Linked DNA regions of Homo sapiens: region 1 is linked to region 2. Evidence: promoter capture Hi-C in human tissues and cell types (Jung and others, 2019). All regions are on one chromosome and are shown on one strand. The core of a region is centred on a gene start or on the middle of the fragment in contact, and the rest is flanking DNA. Distances in the headings are between cores, read along the strand shown.

Region 1 (5,282 bases), core at 497-2,996, 44 kb after region 2:
GAAGTGGAGGTTGCAGTGAGCAGAGATCCCATCAGTGCACTCGAGCCTGGCGACAGAGTGAGACTCCGTCTCAAAGAAAAAAAAGAAAAAAAAAAAGAAAGAAATTCCTTCCTCATGCTGAGCATGAGAGGGCCAGCCTGGACTTCCCACCCATTAGGCCTGGCTTGGCTGCATGGGATCATCAGCCCCTGCCTCCAGGAGAACAGCCCTCAGGTGTTTAAGGGGAGGGCCTGTATCACCTTCCTCTCCCAAGTCTCCTCTTTCGCACCCTCCAATTCCTGACAATGGGAGTCAGGGCTTGATTTTGAGTTTTCTCGCCTTCTGGGAAGTTGTGAATTCCCCAGGGAGGGGAGCCCTCCATGTGCAGAAGAGTGAGGGCTGATTAGCCAGGGCCTCAGGAGCAGACTGTGTTACAGATGAGCTCTCTAACAAGCTGTCACATTTCAGATCCAGGCCTGCTCAGTCGATCAAATGTGCCATGATCAATATCAAGCCTGGTGAGCTCCCCAAGGAGGCTGCAGTGGGGGCCTACGTGAAGGTGCACACTGTGGAGCAGGGAGAAATTTTGGTGAGTGTGCCAAGAGCTCTGTTCACCATGGAGTACGTAACATGAATGGGCTGGAATGTTAAGTAATGACAGTAAAGGTTTAAAAACACTTCCCTCCATATTTGATATTAAGGAATTATGTTGATTTGTAAAGATGTGATAAGAATAGGCCGGGCGCGGTGGCTCACACCTGTAATCCCAGCACTATGAGAGGCCGAGGTGGGCAGATCACAAGGTCAGGAGTTTGAGACCAGCCTGACCAACATGGTGAAACCCTGTCTCTACTAAAAATACAAAAATTAGCTGGGCATGGTGGTGTACGCCTGTAATCCCAGCTGAATCCAGGAACAAGGCAAAGATGTTCCCTCTTACCACTCCTATTCAACATTGTATTGAAAGTCCTAGCTAGTCCATTCAAGAAAAGGAAATAAAAGGTATACAGATTGGGAAGTAAGAAATAAAACTATCTTTGTTTGCAGATAACATTATTGTCTATGTAGATAATTCCAAACAATTTTTTTAAAAAGAAAAACCTCCTGAAACTAATGAGATTATAGCAAGGTCACAGGATACAAAATTAATATAGAGAGTCCATTGCTTTCCTTATACCAGCAATGAACAATTGAAATTTGACATTTAAAAACACAATACCAGCTGGGCACAGTAGCCCCAGCACTTTGGGAGGCTGAAGCGGGCGAATCACTTGAGGTCAGGAGTTCGAGACCAGTCTGGCCAACATGGTGAAATTCCATCTCTGCTAAAAATACAAAAATTAGCTGGGGCCAGGCATGGTGGCTCACGCCTGTAATCCCAGCACTTTGGGAGCCTGAGGCAGGTTGGATCACTTGAGGTCAGGAGTTCAAGACCAGACTGGCCAACATGGTGAAACCCCATCTCTACTAATAATACAAAAATTAGCCAGGCATGGTGGCACACACCTGTAATCCCAGCTACTCGGGAGGCTGAGGCAAGAGAATCACTTGAACCTGGGAGGCGGAGGTTGCAGTGAGCTGAGATAGTGACGTTGCACTAAAGCCTGGGGGACAAGAGTGAAACTCCGTCTCCAAAAAAAAAAACCAAAACCCAAACCAAAAAGCCAGGTATGGTGGCAGGCACCTGAAATCCCAGCTATTTGGGAGGCTGAGGCACAAGAATTGCTTGAACTCAGGAGGCAGAGGTTGAAGTGAGCCGAGATTGTGCCACTGCACTCCTCTTGGGTGACAAGAGCGAAACTCCATCTCAAAAAAAAAAAAATTAATAACAAATACATAAATTACCTAATATTTTTATAGAATCTAATTTCTAAAAAATTCAATTTCTAGGCCAGGCATCGTGGCTCACGCCTGTAATCCCAACACTTTGGGAGGCCACCTGAGGTTGGGAGTTCGAGACCAGCCTGACCAACATGGAGAAACCCTGTCTCTACTAAAAATGCAAAATTAGCCAGGCATGGTGGACACCTGTAATCCCAGCTACTCGGGAGGCTGTGTCAGGAGAATTGCTTGAACCTAGGAGGCGGAGGTTGCAGTGAGCTGAGATCGCGCCATTGCACTCCAGCCTGGGCAACAAGAGTGAAAATCCGTCTCAAAAAAAAAAAAAAAAAAGAATTCAATTTCTAAGAAATCCATTATGAAAAGGCTAAATATTGCATGATTCCAATTCTATGACATTCTGGAAAAGAAAAACACTATAGAGATAGTAAAATTATCAGTGGTTGCAAGAGGTTTGGAGTTCAGGAGATGGGATGAATAGGTGAAGCACAGGGGACTTTTAGGGCAGTAAAATTATTCTCTATGGTACTGTAATGGTGGATACAAAAGCATTTGTCAAAACCTATTTAATTTTACAGCACAAAGAGTGAATCTTAATGTATGCAATTTGTTAAAAAAGAAAAAAAATCAGCCAGGCATAGTGGCTCACGCCTGTAATCCCAGCACTTTGGGAGTACGAGGCAGGTGGATCACGAGATCAGGAGATTGAGACCATCCTGGCTAACATGATGAAACCGCGTCTCTACTAAAAATACAAAAAATTAGCCAGGTGTGGTGGTGGGTGCCTTTAGTTCCAGCTACTCGGGAGGCTGAGGCAGAAGAGTTGCTTGAACCCGGGAGTTGGAGCTTGCAGTGAGCAGAGATCGCGCCACTGCACTCCAGCCTGGGCAACAGAGCGAGACTCCATCTCAAAAAAAGAAAAAAGAAAAAAATCATCTAGGAGGTTAGTGGATCTGAGGAAGGAATACAAACTATGACAAGATAATCTAACCATTATAAATGTATGAAACAATCTCTGTGAAGGAGTTGGGGGGAAAAGATGCTGACTTAAGTAACTTTGGAAATGAGTGGAACTGGTAAGACTAAAGCAAAAGGAACTGTGTCTGAGCACTGTGCCCTAGTGATAAAGCTGTTTGTCATGAAGGTAGGGATTAACAATACTTCTACTACTATACATGTACACAGTGTTAACACTGAAATAAATCAGTTCAGTAAATGGATGGCAGAGGGTGGGAGCCAGGTTTTTCACAATTTAAGCAGGAATATATAGAAAGCAGGGGGAGCCTAGAATACTCCATGTAGTAATGGATTAGAGTTGAAAACATCAGTAGTCACTGAAATTTAACTCAATATATACTTACAGATAATTATGTATAGAAATATGTATAGGTAGGCCAGGTGTGGTGGCTCACGCCTGTAATCCCAGCACTTTGGGAGGCCGAGGAGGGCGGATCACGAGGTCAGGAGATCGAGACCATCCTGGCTAACACAGTGAAACCCCGTCTCTACTAAAAGTACAAAAAAAATTAGCCGGGCGTGGTGGCAGGCACCTGTAATCCCAGCTACTCAGGAGGCTGAGGCAGGAGAATGGCGGGAACCCGGGAGGCAGAGCTTGCAGTGAGCTGAGATTGTGCCACTGCACTCCAGCCTAGGTGACAGAGCAAGACTCCATCTCAAAAAAAAAAAAAGGAAATATGTATAGGTATGGGTGGAAACATACAACTGTTTTGCTCTGTCAGATAATAGGGCCTAAAAGAAATGTTACCCTTCCAGCAATGAGCACACTTAACACTTGGATCTTGGTTGGTTTCTTTTCTTTCTTTCTTTCTTTTTTTTTTTTTTGACAGAGTCTTTCTCTGTCACCCAGGCTGGAGTGCAGTGGCGCCATCTCGGCTCACTGTGACCTCTGCCTCCTGGGTTCAAGTGATTCTCCTGCCTCTGCCTCCTGAGTAGCTGGCATTACAGGCACACGCCGCCATGCCTGACTAACTTTTTGTATTTTTAGTAGAGACGGGGTTTCACCATGTTGGCCAGGCTGGTCTGGAACTCCTGACCTCATGGTCCACCCACCTCGGCCTACCAAAGTGCTGGGATTACAGGCATGAGCCACTGGACCTGGCCTCTTTTATTTTTTTTTTAAGAGACAGGGTCTTGCTCTGTCACTCAGGCTGGAGTGCAGTGGCAAGTGATCATGGGTCACTGCAGCCTTGAACTCCTGGGCCCAACCAATCCTCTCACCTCAGTATTCTGAATAGCTGAGACTACAGGTGTGTGCTGCCATGCCCAACTAATTTTTTTTATTTTTCGTTAGAGACAGGGTCTCACTATGTTGCCCAGGCTGGTCTGGAACTCCTGGCCTCAAGCAATACTCCCACCTTGGCCTCCCAAAGGGCTGGGATTACAGGCGTGAACCATCGTGCCTGGCCTCCATACTGTTTTTCATGATGGCTGTACTAATTTATATTCCCACCAATAGTGTGTGAGGGTTCCCTTTTTTGCAAATCTTTGCCAACATTTGTCATATTTTGTCTTTTTGATAGTAACCATTTTAACAGGTATGACTCAACATCTCATTGGATTTTCAATTTGTATTTCCATGATGATCAATGATGTTGAGCATTTTTTTCATATACCTGTTGGTCATTTGTATGTCTTCCTTTGAGAAATGTCTATTCAGAGTTTTTGCCCACTTCTTAACCAGGCTGTTTGATTTCTTGAGACTGTGTTGTTTAAGTTCATTATACATTTTAGTTATTATCCCCTTATCAGATGTACGGCTTGCAAATATTTTCTACCATTCTTTAGGTTGTCTTTTTACTTTGTTGGTTGTTTCCTTTGCTATGCAGGAGCTTTTTAGTTTGATGCAATCTCATTTGTCTATTTTTGCTTTTGTTGCCTGTGTTTTTGGGGTCATACCCCAAAAAAAACCATTGCCCAGGCCAATGTCAAGAAACCAGATCATGATTTCTAATACAGTTTCCCAATAAAAGGAACAAGGGCTCTTTGGAAGAATGGTTGAATCTAGGACTAGGGCAGGAAATACACAGGATGAGTCTAGAACATATTGTAAATGCCAGAAAGTAAGGAAGAGCTAGGGGAGGGGGCAGGAACTGCTTTAATATGGGAGCATGTCCAAGGGACATATGGGGGCCACCTAAAAGATCTCCCAATGGTCAAAGCTGAAACAATTTGAACAACAAAATAAAGCAGTGTTGGATTATAACCAAAAGTACAAAATAAACATTCATGAGTGCATATTGATATAAATGAATTAATAATGAATTAATAAATGGAGGAGAAGAGACAAATCTCCCTGCAGAATAAATTTCAAGCAATTTATGTAGATACTCTGTCTTAAAGGAGAGAGTGCCTAACTCTCTACTTAAATGTGGGCCATGCATAGGACTTCCTTCCAAAGAGTACAGTATGGCAAGGGGGGAATGAAGTAACTTTACAATGGAAAA
Region 2 (5,926 bases), core at 2,376-4,875:
TGCTGGGATTACATACGTGAGCCACCATGCCCGGCCTCATATATCTTTCATAGCTTTATTATAGCAAGACTTTCTCTGAGGATTTTACTTCCCCACCATATTGTGAACTCCTGGTAAGCAGGGACCACATCTTATTCACCTTCATATGCTTTGTAAGCATTTGTTGTATAGCTTTTATAATCAGCAAAACAATAAGAATCTTCTCTCTCCCTCTCTCTCTTTTTTTTTTTTTTTTTGAGACGGAGTCTCATTCTGTCACCTAGGCTTGAGTGGTGCAATCTTGGCTCACTGCAACCTGCGCCTCCCAGGCTCAGATGATGCTCCCGCCTCAGCCTCCCGAGTAGCTGGGATTACAGGTGCATGCCACCACACTGGGCTAGTTTTTGTATTTTTAGTAGATACTGGGTTTCACCATGTTGGACGAGCTGGCCTTGAGCTCCTGACCTCAGGTGATCCACCCGCATCAGCCTCCCAAAGTGTTGGGATTGCAGGCATGAGCCACCGCGCTTGGCCGAATCTTCTCATAAATTGTTTGTGGAATTGAATCGAACTCCATTTTATACATTATGAAAATGAGGCCCCAAGTAGTTAAGTGACTTACCTAAGATCACATAGGAATAGGACCAGTGCTCTTTTTGGCATTCTACCCTGTAATAGTTACAGTTATAAAATCAGGAACTGTAAGAGAAATGAAACTTTCTTAGTTTCTAGAACTGACTTAAATGTGTGACTCTGAATCCCCAGCCCACCTCCTTGCAGATAATTGAATTTAGGATGTCTTCAGGTAAATTGAGATCCAATCCAGTAATTTTGAGTGGATATAATTTCAGGCTTATTGATTCATCTTGGGCCCATTCATAGCTCTCCAAACTTCCTGCTTCTTCTTCCCCAAAGCTGATCTAATTCCTAGAGAAATTGTACAACCACAGCTGGCAAGAGGTGAGGTTGGCAGTAAACATTTTTGGGGTCTCATCAGGTCGTACTGGCATCATCTGATGCCCCTTGTGAGCCTGGATACTTTCCTTGTCACTCTTGGATCCTCAGGCAGTTCAGAGGACTGACGGGACACCCTTCCTGCCTATAGCCATCTCCTACCATCTCTCTTGCTTTCTCCAGGCCCAGTTGTTTCTTTCAGAAGCCCCCTACACTTTTGAAGGGGATCCTCTTATATTTCCTTCCTTAAGACTAGGTTTGCAGTGGGGGAGGCAAAAACTCCATACCTCATCTCTCTGTCTCTCTTTCTAAAACTTTCTCTTCTTTCTCTCTCTGAATTCTTTACATCTTTTCTCATGGTATGGGGGAAAAACCAGTTTTGTCCCTTCTCACCTCTGTGTGTGATTACTGTCCCACCCCAAGAGTGGCCTTTGTCTTTCTTCTCAGCTGTCCAGCCATCTTTGCTGAACTCAGTGTCCTTCTGTCTACCTATCAGTTGGAGGAGAGTTAACAGATATACCCCACGGGATAGGAATGGCAGAGCAGGTGATGCTTGAAATCACAGTTTTCTACTGAGGATCCTGGTGCAAGAGCAAATTGAGATACTCAATTGTCATCTTTAATAGAAAAAAGCACTTTAGAGCCTATATTTTTCTATATCTTTAGAAGGACTCCAGAGATTTGAGTTCTAGTCACCAAGTTCCATTCAATATTTGACACTTGATTTGGGTGAGGTCTTCTGTTTTGCTGAGTTTTTTTTTTATTGTCCTGATTTAACCAGACTTATGGGACAGTACTATGCACCCACGTTCCAGGGCCTCCAAGTTCTAAGTCTCAGAGTGGTCCCTGGGCTAAGGTGCTGGATGAACCTACTCCCAGCCTAGAAGCCTCCCGCTGTAACAAAGTACACCCATTTTTCTATGAGATAGAGAATGAGTTATCTTTTTAAATCATCTTTTTCTTCTTTCTCTTTTGTGTTTTTCTTCTGTTCCCCACTTCCTACTTAGCTGATTAGAAATGCAGTTATAACCTTTTGCTTTCCCTTCACCAGACACTCCTAGAGCAAGTGTATCTGTGTGCTTACTTAAAAGCTCCAGAGTAGAAACCTCTCCCACCAGATTGCCTTGAGAGACAATAGTCAATTTACAACCAAAAGTATGCCTGCCAGGAAACTCTGCCCCACCTGGAGAGTATCTCGAGACAAGGCCACTTTACAACCTAGTTCTGCCCAAGATGGTGGCAGCTCGACCAGGCGGTAGATAAGGCACCAAAGTGAGTCATGGAGACTCCCACCTGCTCATTCCCTCCTCTGCATGCCATTTATGCCAATTCCCCCTCCCGCTTTTTTTTTTTTTTTTTTTTTTTTTTTTGAGACAGAGTCTTGCTCTGTCGTTCAGGCTGGAGTGCAGTGGCACAATCTTGGCTGACTGCAACCTCTGCCTCCCGGGTTCAAGTGATCCTCCCACCTCAGCCTCCCGAGTAGCTGGGATTATAGGTGCCCACCACCTCACCCGGCTAATTTTTTTGTATTTTTAGTAGGGATGGGGTTTCACCACATTGGCCAGGCTGGACCAGACCTTGCTTCTGTTAATTGGATGCTACAAATGGAGAGCAAGTGTACCTGACATTTAGCTACACTGCTTTCTTAAAAAAAAAAAAAAAAAAAAGGCCCTGGCCAGGAGTGGTGGTTTATGCCTGTAATCCCGGCACTTTGGGAGGCTGAGGTGGGTGGATCACTTGAGGTCAGGAGCTTGAGACCAGCCTGGGCAACGTGGTGAAAGCCTGTCTTTACTAAAAATACAAAAATCAGCCGGGCATGGTGGCACACGCCTGTAATCCTAGCTACTTGGGCGGCTGAGGCAGGAGAATCACTTGAATTTGGGAGGCAGAGGTTGCAGTGAGCTGAGATTGGGCCACTGCACTCCATCCTGGGAACAAAGTGAGACAGTGTCTCAAAAAACAAAAAAGCCCTATCTTTGCAGGACAGGTGAGCCCCCAAATTGAGACTTAGCTTAGGAGAGTTCTTGGCTTTGCCCAAGGAAGGAATTCAAGGGTGAGCCAGTGGTGTTAGACAGCAATCTTTTATTGAATAGTGCTTCTCCTTGTGGGGCAGGGCTAACTCATGGGCAATGAATCCGGAGTCGATACCCAGTGTATGAGATGTTGGCAACTGTATTTATGCTCATCTCTAATCCCTTCTCAGCCTTTTGGCTGAGATCAAGTGTAGTATACGCATTCCTACCCACTTTCAATCACATGCAAATTAAGGGGCAGGCTAATGCAAATTAAGGGGCAGGTTAATGCAAATTAAGGAGTGGGTTTTTAGAGTTTTCTAGGAAAGAGGTAGCAACTTCCTGGTCATTGCCAAGACATTTGTACACTGTCATGGCACTGGTAGGAGTGTCTTATGTTAATGAGGGATGGGGACAGCTAGGGGGTCCTAGATCCTGTTTTGGTCAGCAGGGTTGTGCCATTCTCCTGTCTCACCAGGACTCTGGCAGCCATTTAGCTACTTTGAGCCCCAGTCTCCTATGTATGGAGTTGAGTAAAAGTTTGGGTGGTTGTGAGGATTAGCTGAGATAATGCCTGTGAGTATCCCATAAATGTTAGACTCCCACATTCCAATCCCTGTGTCCCCTGCCTCCAGAATCTTTCATTGTGACCTTAGGAGATTCTGAGAATGATTTTTCTCAGAGCAGGGCTTCCAGTAGCTGATGGTATGGTAGGAGGAGTGGAGTGGAGCTCTTGCCTTGTTACTGAGGAAATCTATTTGTTTCTAGTATTACTGGATTTTTGGGGAAAAATTTGTAGTCCTCCCCTTGAAAGGCAAAGGGGCTAGTTGTGCCATTTGCCTGCACAGGAACCATGAGGAGACATATGGTAACTTATGCCTGGCAGCTCCTGAAGAAGGAACTGGTGAGGAGGGGCAAGGGCCCTGGGAGGGAAGAGCAGAAGACTGAACAGACAGGTGTTTTGAGGAAGGTCGATGCAGGTGTAGGAGGGGTCTTGGATGAATGGTGGCCATCCTGTACCTTTTGGAGTCACAGCATGGCACAAAGGAGGGACCCCTGCCCTGTAGCCTACCAGCCCCCCACACTGGGCAAGCCATAAGCCACACTCAGAGCCACTGAGTCCTGTTCTGTACCCACTCTTCCTGCTATTATGAGATCCAGAGAGAACGAGGGAGGATAGAGTCAGGGTAGCAACATTGAGTCATAGGTTAAGCTTGTGAACTCTGGAGCCAGACTACCTAGGTTTAAATCCCTATCACCTATTAGTCATGTGACCCCAGGCAAGTTGCTTGGTTTGCTGTGCCTTTATTTTCTCCTCTGTAAAGTGAGATGATAATACTAGTACCTACTGCATAAATTTACTGATTAAATGATTTACATATCAGAATAGTGCTTTGGATAATGCCTGACAATAGTAAATTGTACTCAGTAAGTATTAATTTTATTCATAAAGTACCTTTCCCCATATTTCCATAGATATCTAATTTTTAAGAAATAGAACATTACAGGTGTAGGGAAAGCTCTTTACCATCCCATGCCCCTTTATTTCTCTTTAATAGTAACCACTTTCCTGAAGTTGGTGTCACCCTTCCTGTTTATATTTTTATATATTATCACATGTGTATGTATCCATAAACAATATATAGTATGTGGCACACTGTTTAAAAATGATACCATAAATAGCATCATAGTTCTTTTTTCCCACTCAAAATCATTTCAGCTTTATCCACATTGACACACACAGACTTAGTGCTGTGTTCAATCCTGTGACTGAACCATAATGTATTGATCCCTTCGATCCCTACTAATGAACATTTGTTTTCAGCCATTCACTGTTACACACAATGTTGCCATGATTACCCTCATGGCTATCCCCTTGTACATGTATGTTTCTCTGAAGAGGACATATAAAGTACATACAATTCTTCCATTGTGAAGTACACACATCCTCAACTTTATATAATGTTGCCAAATTGCTCTTCAACATGGTTGTACCATGTTTCCCAGTTCCCAGTGATAAGTGCAAAATAGTATCATGTTATTACTTTAATTTCCATTTCCATTATTTCTAGCAATGTTAAAAATGGTTTCACAATTTGGCTGGGGCATGAAGGCTCATGCCTGTAATCCCAGCACTTTGGGAGGCTGAGGTGGAAGGATCACTTGAAGCCAGAGTTGGAAACCAGCCTGGGCAACAAAGTGAAACCCCCTCTTTACAAACAATGTAAATATAAATACAAATGAATAAAAACAATATTTTCACAATTTATAGGTAATTTGAACTTTCCCTTTGAATTACCTTTGCTCATTTTGCTATTGGGTTATTTGTATTTTTCTTTTGATTTGTAGGATTACAAAAAATAAATTTTGGATCGTAATCCTTTGTTGATTATATGCATAGTAAGTATATTTTTCCAGTCTGTAGTTCGTTGTCTCACTTTGTTTATGATACACTTTAAAAAGAACATTCTCTTTTTTCCTTTGTTTGTTTTTATTTATTTTTTTGAGACAGAGTCTCACTCTGTTGCCCAGGCTGGAGTGCAGTGGCGCAATTTCAGCTCACTGCAACCTCCACCTCCCAGGTTCAAGTGCTCCTGGTGCCTCAGCCTCCTGAGTAGCTGGGATTACAGGCGCCCACCACCACGCCCGGCTAATTTTTGTTTTTTTTAGTGCAGATGGGATTTCACCATGTTGGCCAGACTAGTCTCAAACTCCTGGTCTCAAGTGATCAGCCCACCTTGGCCTCCCAAAGTGCTAGGATTGCAGGCATGAGCCATTGTGCCAGAGCTGTTTGTTTGTTTGTTTGTTTCATTTTGTTGTTGTTGTTACAGGGTCTTGCTCTGTTACCCAGGTTGGAGTGCAGTGGCACGATCATAGCTCATTGCAACCTTGAACTCCTGGGCTCAAGCAATCCTTCTGCCTCGGCCTCCCGAGTAGCTGGGACTACAGGCGAGTGCCACTGTGCCTAGCTAACGATGTAC

What was found. Contacts are between HindIII fragments. The study calls those that stand out against the background at their distance.
Region 1: a contact is called between a fragment that was not itself captured here and the fragment with the promoter of CNBD2 in region 2, in 1 of the 25 tissues and cell types used here (IMR-90 fibroblasts).

Annotation. Positions count from the first base shown.
Region 1 is chr20:36,010,690-36,015,971 of GRCh38, forward strand. CNBD2 (cyclic nucleotide binding domain containing 2) reads left to right here. Exons shown (of 12, transcript NM_001365709.1): 10 at 448-568. Among named protein-coding and RNA genes, the nearest start is that of NORAD, 38 kb to the right of the region's middle. The HindIII fragment of the contact is 8,643 bases long and covers 1-5,282 here.
Region 2 is chr20:35,964,965-35,970,890 of GRCh38, forward strand. CNBD2 (cyclic nucleotide binding domain containing 2) reads left to right here and starts at 3,626. Exons shown (of 12, transcript NM_001365709.1): 1 at 3,626-3,849. The coding sequence starts at 3,799. It also overlaps the pseudogene LOC124904982. The HindIII fragment of the contact is 12,223 bases long and covers 1-5,926 here.